2 separate regions of the Homo sapiens genome follow, and region 1 is linked to region 2. Evidence: promoter capture Hi-C in 16 types of primary human blood cells and fetal thymus (Javierre and others, 2016). All regions are on one chromosome and are shown on one strand. Each heading gives the region's core, a stretch centred on a gene start or on the middle of the fragment in contact. The rest is flanking DNA. Distances are from core to core; before and after follow the strand shown.

Region 1 (4,003 bases), core at 648-3,147, 1.1 Mb before region 2:
AAGGGCAGAGGAGTGTGTCTCACTTGTGTAATTACAACTTTCCCCTATTGCTTTATTGGGATAGTCTACTCTGGAGCTTATGAGATAGAAAATAACAAGCAAATAACATAACACATCAATTCCTAAAATACACTCAAAGACAGAAGCAATGAAACACTACAATAAAACATTTAATTATTTTTTTCTCCACAACAAATTTTGCTCAAAGCCATTATTTTATTGTTTTAGAGATAAACTCACAGCTGCCACAAGATCCTGAGATCCTGTTATTTCCTGGCTAGAAAATTTGTAATGCAAAGGTGGAACTGAAGTGCCAAAAGCTCTCTAAGAGATCACTTAAGCAACAGGAGAGTGAGCATGTTTGTACACTCTCTTGGGCACACATGTTCTCTCTCTCTCCTTTTTGACTACTTGACAACAGAGTTTTTATCACTGTGCATGTGGAGTAAACACGGCCCAAGGGATCATTTACTGTGTCCCCTCAGATCCTACCTTGGTTCCATCCTAAATTTCTTGGTGCCTTTAGCCACCTCTGTACCCACTATCCATAAAAGAATGGGCATTCACGTGCCAGTATCCAAAAGAGCCATAACAATTAAAATCCTTCTCTGCTTGAAATTTCCAAATATGGGGTATAACATCCACAGTGAGACCTTGGACTCACCCCTAATTTTTAAAGTAGTAAAGTCCTTTGTAGAAGGGCACAAGAGATCAGGTGAACATGGAAAAGCTTATATCTGTGTCAGTGAATGAGACACAGTTCCTTTCAGGTTCAAGAATAGCAGCTGAGCTTCCCCAAACCATGTTCCAGCTATAGAAATTAAATAATCTTTCACTTCTCTTTGGAGGAGAAAGTGAAAAACAGCAGCAACAATTAAGCTCCTTGTATTAATCCTACTTCCTACGTAACAAACATCTTCTTAATTCCTCATTAAAGAAAAAGGAGGAGAACCACATATTACTAATTGGCTAAATGATTTAGTCAGTATGCTTGCTACCAATATCTACTAGCTAATGGGCCCTTGCTTTTTTTTTTTCCAGCTAATCATGTTTATGACAAGATTCCACCTTCTTTACCTAAATTGATATTTTTTATATTTATATTTATTTTTTAAAATCTGACAGTAAAAACAAAGTTTATGAATCAGAGGTTAAAAATATCATTTGCTTATAGAATATCTTAACACAGGTTCTGCTTGTTTCATTTCTACAGAAGTAACCTGCACATATAGAAGAGGCATCTGCAGTACAGGATTGGAGCTCCACCCTTACAAAATCTCCAAACTTACATAGGGCAATTTGTACATATTTTTTCTTCCCTTCTTGAGAAAGAAGAGAAAGCTTTTTCTCTAATGTAAACAAATCCCCTCTGGGAAGTGTACAAAAAGGTCCCTAAGTTGCTTCAACTCTTTAAAATGTAAATGAATGGGTTAGAAATTGATTACCTGTTGTTATGTAAATGAATGGCTCTAGAGATGATGAATTTGTAAATTTCCCTAGGGTTTTTATCTTTAATTTCCAGGACTTGTTTGCCTCTTCCTCATTTTCTTTTAAGTTGGATTGCCAGTACATTTTGCCCAGAAAGTCATGACCGTGCAAAAATGTAAAAATAGTCACATTTTGTTCTAACACAAATTGATCTCTATACCGATGGTGTTATATTTATGGCAAATAATGATTTTCTCAGTACATAATTATTAAACATGTAGTAATGCTAATGTGGAGGATAAGGCAGTAAACAAGGGGGGAAATATCTTTGCCCTCTAGACATGGGAAAACAAATAAGCAAAACAAATGGTAACTTAATAATAAAAGCCAAGGGAACAAATAATCAGAGAAACAGATTGAAATCATGGGGACTTTGGGATTTTCAAGCGGATGTTCAGAGAAGTTCACATTAATGAGAAGACAGTATCTGAATGAAGAATCTAAAAATGAGGGTGTGAACCTTGACAGTGACAGAGAGAATTTGATTAGGGAGCAGGACCAGTGAAAGCAAAAGCCTTAAGCCGGAGTCATGTTTGGCTATTCAAGAAACAACAAGGATAATAGCATAGCGAGGACAGAGAAAGTGGAAGAGAGACTGGCTATGATAGATAATATTCACAGTCAGGTCACTAAATTAATTTAATATATAATTGAATGCTAATATATTGCATATGTTACACAGTAAAATTAGGAAAGGTGTCATGGAAGGATTGGAAATTGGATTCCTTCTATAAAGAAAAATATATTTTATATATACAGAGTAGGGATTGCAAAGGAATTTAGGCAAAGTGTTTGTGGCTAAAACCCCTATGATATTACCAAATTTTACCCCTTTTATCTTCAGCAGAGATAATTAGCAGAGATAATTAACATGACTGCCCAACTAAAATACATGTCTCCCCCTCTTTTATAATTAGGTGTGGACATAGCTAAATTATCACAAAAGGCAAATATGTGGAATTAAGTAAGCTTGAGAAAAATGGAATGGCTTGTTCCTCAATATTGTCCACCACGCTGAATCTAAAACACAAAACTGCAAGTTCTTCTGCTTTCTCTTTTCTGCCCTTCCTCCTTTTCACCTTTCTTTTTTAATCATCTCCCCCTTCCTTTCTCTTTTCTTTCTTCCTTTACGCCTTCCTCATTTTCTTCCACAAATGATTCATCCACTTCTACATGTCAGGCACTGTACAGGGTGTCTGAGATTCAGCTGTAAGTCAAACCAGAATCTGTCTTACCCCAGTGGATCTCGTACTCACATATATGAAGAGATGATGATAAAAAAAGTTGCCCTGTTGATTTGGGGAGGTCGAGGCCAGGCCCCCACTTGGCTTGAAGGGACATTTTCAGACTTTTCTTTCTGTCACTTGGAGTGTCTATGCCTCTCATGTTTCCCTAATAAACTCCTCAACTTTTTTTAAAAAAAGTTTCAGATATGAATGTTACATTCCAACTTGTATAACTGGTAATGAAGAAGTGTCATAAATTAAAATAATAATAAGTGAAATATGGCAGTATAATATAGTGCTCAAAAAAGTTCCATCATTTTCTGAAATTTCAAAGCCATATAACATTAGGTAAGTTACACAAACTTTGAAAGTTTTAGTTTCTGTTTTAAAAGAATATAAAGGGAATGCTTCATGTAGTGAGCAATTGTGTTTATAAAAAATTTTAGCCAGTGTAAGGATGCTAACGATGATGCATGTGAAGTTTATGTAAAATGCTCTGAAACAACATTCTCTGAAGCATAGTGAGAGCTTAATGAATTTGAGCTATGGATATTGTGAATTACTAACTATTTGACCTTGGCAGAATCATGATAGAGGATGTCCTGAGGATGCAGTGATGTGCCGAGAATTTGAGAGTAAGAGTTTAAAGCAATGTTATATTCACAAAGAAATAATAAAATATACAAGGCCAGATGTCTAGAGATCACAGACTTTTTAAAATAATTCATGCTTTTAAATTCATACTTTGTTTTTAACAAATTCAAATGCCTTCACAGGAGGGGTAACAACCATAACTGTGTGAAAAACTGAGCCATCACCTAAGTAATAATAATTTTTAAAAATTAATAAGAATCATAAATAATCAAAAGCCTGGAGTCAACTTCCACATCCCAATTTAAACGTGAAGCTATAATGAGACTTCAAAAATTCATGGAAAAATTGAATTAAAATATAAAAATAAAAAATACAAACTTTATTTCTCAACAGACACTCCATTAAGTTCAAAACACTTTTATAAGTGACTCCAAACATTTAGTCCCTCCATAAAGGAATGAGAGTCCTTGGAATTTAACCATGTCAATGCAGTCTGTTTTTATATTATTACATAAATAAATGGCTGTTCTTTACATAATTTTAAAAGTTAGGAAACCCAGAAATTGCCAGAAGGCACCAAATCAGGACTGGAAAGTGGATGGCTAATAATTTCTCATTGAAATTCTCACAATATTGTTTTTGTTTTAGGAGAAGAATGAGCAGGAACATTGTCATGGTAGTGAAGCTTTGTTGAG
Region 2 (3,873 bases), core at 642-3,141:
ATTTATCCATCCACTATTCTGGGTGTCTCAAACTGGGACCTAAAATGCGGAGGTTTGCACATGACCTGAAATTACTTCCACCACTGGGAGAAGGGAGGATTGAGCAATTTCCTGTTTCTATTAAAGTGCATTATACAAACTTGTCATTCTGGGGATGAAAGGTCACCCTAGAATTGCCTATGGGCAATTTCTTATAGTTCAACCTAGAATGAGAAATGGGAAATTCAGAAAGGCATTGTAGGCATCTGTAACCAGCAGAGGGACGTGCCCCACCTGGGTGGGGACCATGCATCCTTGCCACATGCCCCACTGCACAACTTCCCCAGCTCCTCAACGTCACATGGATCTGGAAAGCAGGGAGACTGGACTACGGAGCCAGCCCTCCAGGGTTGGAACTGAGTTTGAATCTCAGCTTGACTACTTACTAGGATCTAAGGTAACATGTTTAATCTCTCTGTGCTCAGTTTCCTCATCTGGAAATAGAGATTATAATGCTCCTCCCTCATATGATCATAGTGAGGACTGAAAGAGTTAATGCATATAAGGAGTGTTAGGACAGGATCTGGCACATGGTAAATGCTTTATAAGTGTTAGTTGTTATCATCATGATTATTCTTGTTTGAATTATAAGAGAAAAAGCATGTATCTTAAGAATAGAGGGTTTTAAAATGCTCCCAAGTTCCTTAACCAACCTGAGCCATCTGTAAATTAAGTACTATGGGATTTCCAGCTCTGACATGTATTCTGACATGTAACTGGCATCAGTTTAATACAAACTATTCTAAAATGTCTTGTGCCCTTGACAGGGAGGTCCAAGTACTGGATACTTGCAATGCAATCCAGCAGTGGCCCCGTCTTTCTTACAAAAAGGCCCCAGTCACATGTTGATGAGGCTAGATCTATTCCTGTCCTCCTTCTCTTCCCCATATTTCCTTATTCTTCTTCAAGTCTAAACGTTTATTGAACTGAGACCCATGAATGAGTTACTCGACTAGGCTTGTAGGATAAACTTGCCAGGCTTTAGATCTATTTGTTCCTTTCCATCCCCCAAAATCAAATGGCTGCTCCAGGAAAATGTTCCCCTTGTGGCAGGGTCCGGGAGAAAAGAGAGAAGCGACAAAACCAAAAATTAAAACGACCGAAGTCCCATATGCTCCAGGAATATGTCCTGGAGATGGGAGTGGAGGGCAGGGGGAGAATGTTGTTGAGGTCAAAATTTTTGAAGTTTTAAGTCCTATATCTTGACATCCCGAGTATAAATGCGGGTACCAGACACAGTACAAACGTTCTCAAAGCCCAGTTACGTATTCCAAACCAAACGCGGGCTCTTGAAGGGTGATGAGGTAGGGATGAAATCCAGGATCGCCTGAAGACCATTTCTTCCTCTCTTAGGGACCTGCTGGTCTCCAGCTGATTCGGTCCAGGAGGAAAAACCTCCCACTTGCTCCTCTCGGGCTCCCTGCAAGGAGAGAGTAGAGACACTCCTGCCACCCAGTTGCAAGAAGTCGCCACTTCCCCCTCCAGCCGACTGAAAGTTCGGGCGACGTCTGGGCCGTCATTTGAAGGCGTTTCCTTTTCTTTAAGAACAAAGGTTGGAGCCCAAGCCTTGCGGCGCGGTGCAGGAAAGTACACGGCGTGTGTTGAGAGAAAAAAAATACACACACGCAATGACCCACGAGAAAGGGAAAGGGGAAAACACCAACTACCCGGGCGCTGGGCTTTTTCGACTTTTCCTTTAAAAAGAAAAAAGTTTTTCAAGCTGTAGGTTCCAAGAACAGGCAGGAGGGGGGAGAAGGGGGGGGGGGTTGCAGAAAAGGCGCCTGGTCGGTTATGAGTCACAAGTGAGTTATAAAAGGGTCGCACGTTCGCAGGCGCGGGCTTCCTGTGCGCGGCCGAGCCCGGGCCCAGCGCCGCCTGCAGCCTCGGGAAGGGAGCGGATAGCGGAGCCCCGAGCCGCCCGCAGAGCAAGCGCGGGGAACCAAGGAGACGCTCCTGGCACTGCAGGTACGCCGACTTCAGTCTCGCGCTCCCGCCCGCCTTTCCTCTCTTGAACGTGGCAGGGACGCCGGGGGACTTCGGTGCGAGGGTCACCGCCGGGTTAACTGGCGAGGCAAGGCGGGGGCAGCGCGCACGTGGCCGTGGAGCCCGGCCTGGTCCCGCGCGCGCCTGCGGGTGCCCCCTGGGGACTCAGTGGTGTCGCCTCGCCCGGGACCAGAGATTGCGCTGGATGGATTCCCGCGGGCAGAGGCAGGGGGAAGGAGGGGTGTTCGAAACCTAATACTTGAGCTTCTTTGCAAAGTTTCCTTGGATGGTTGGGGACGTACCTGTATAATGGCCCTGGACCAGCTTCCCTGTTGGAGTGGCCAGAGAAGTGTGTAAAACACACTAGAGGGGCAGGGTGGAAAAAGAGACTGCCTTCAAAACTTGTATCTTTTCGATTTCATTTTGAAAAATAACTACAAATCTATTTTAATTTTACAAAGTTAGACTCATAGCATTTTAGATATCAATGTCTTCATTTAACAGAAGTGAAGATGGAGCAAACGCTCAATCAGCGTCTGTATTTATTCGCTCCTGTTGTGCCAGGGTGCGTTTTTGCCGAGCGGTTGCCTTTCTTTACTCACAAAACCCCCTTGATGTCTGTCCTCCACGTTTTACGAGGGAGAGCCGGATCTTTTGAAGTTTGTATCATCTAAAGCAGGTATATTGGGATGACTATGGATAGAATTTAACCTGAAAACACTGAAGTTGACAGCTGACAAAGATATAAGAATCCAAAGTATGTTAAAAATTAAGGAGCTGAGGCCCACAGAAGTGAAGTTACTTTTCCAGCATCACACAGCAGATCTAGGACCCTGTGTGATTTGAAAAGGCCAAGGTATCTAATGATGCTCATAATTTAGTTTACATTTTGTGTCAAATAGATGAGGTCAAGTGGACATTATGTGTATATTCCAAAGCCAAAATTACTGCTTGTAATATCCATTCATCTCTCCGAAGACGTAGTGCCTCTTTTATATGGCTTTAACCTAATGTATAATCGAAGTGAATTAGGGCAGCCAGACTTTTAATCACAGGACTGATCTTTTAAAAACGGGTATATGTAAAGTTAATTGCTTATCTATGTGAACAGTAATATACACTATAAAAAGTTTTCAAGGCAACTTCCTGCCTGTGGTTTAATTTGATAGTCACAATGATAGGAAATTGGCAGGGTTAGGTGGTGGTATCTACATTTTGCCCATGAGGACTTGTGGCTCAGAGAATTTGAGTTTTTTCTAGTAAGGTCACTAGGTCCCTAGTGCACAGCCTGCTTTTAGGTACGGATGTGGGATGGGGGTGTCGGCAGACCACAGGGTTTTGACTCTCAGTTTGGGCTCATTTCCATGACTCCTTGCTGCCTCCCTGATTTCTGTCAAATGACCAAAGCACATTTAGTAATTACTTCTGCTGCAAGGACTACTCCTTATTAGGCTGTGATAAGTAAGTTTCCTCACATAGTGGGTCAGCTCACTCTGGCCACAGGACCCAGCTTCCTAACCACACACATTAAGAAAGAGAAAAATTAGCACTGTCTGAGACCTACAACCACTTCAAGGGAGAACAGTGGTGTTTGCACAAATGTCTACTTTTGTTTTAACCTAGTCATGTGTAAAAAGTGTAATTCACTGGTCTTTACCAAAAAAAAAAAAAAAAAAACAACAACAAAAAAAAAACAGGCATCATAGTCTGCCTGTGCTGGACGCTATGCTAGACACTGGAGAGACAAAGGTGAGCAGGATAGGCACAACCCTACCCTTACAAACCCAGAAAGTTAGAGGAAAGGCCATCAGGACATTGCTGTGCAATTTGATATCATTTCAATTTTGGTAA

The links. Contacts are between HindIII fragments. The CHiCAGO score rates a contact against its expected background, and 5 or more counts as called.
Region 1: a contact is called between a fragment that was not itself captured here and the fragment with the promoter of MIR155HG in region 2, in 2 of 17 cell types (M1 macrophages and M0 macrophages). The highest score is 6.6, in M1 macrophages.

The regions. Positions count from the first base shown.
Region 1 is chr21:24,422,367-24,426,369 of GRCh38, forward strand. No RefSeq gene overlaps it. Among named protein-coding and RNA genes, the nearest start is that of LINC01684, 4.4 kb to the right of the region's middle. The HindIII fragment of the contact is 1,116 bases long and covers 1,340-2,455 here.
Region 2 is chr21:25,560,254-25,564,126 of GRCh38, forward strand. It overlaps MIR155HG (MIR155 host gene), which reads left to right and starts at 1,892. Exons shown (of 3, transcript NR_001458.3): 1 at 1,892-2,004. RefSeq lists an enhancer at 1,427-1,476 and silencers at 1,857-1,946, 1,957-2,236. The HindIII fragment of the contact is 13,141 bases long and covers 1-3,873 here.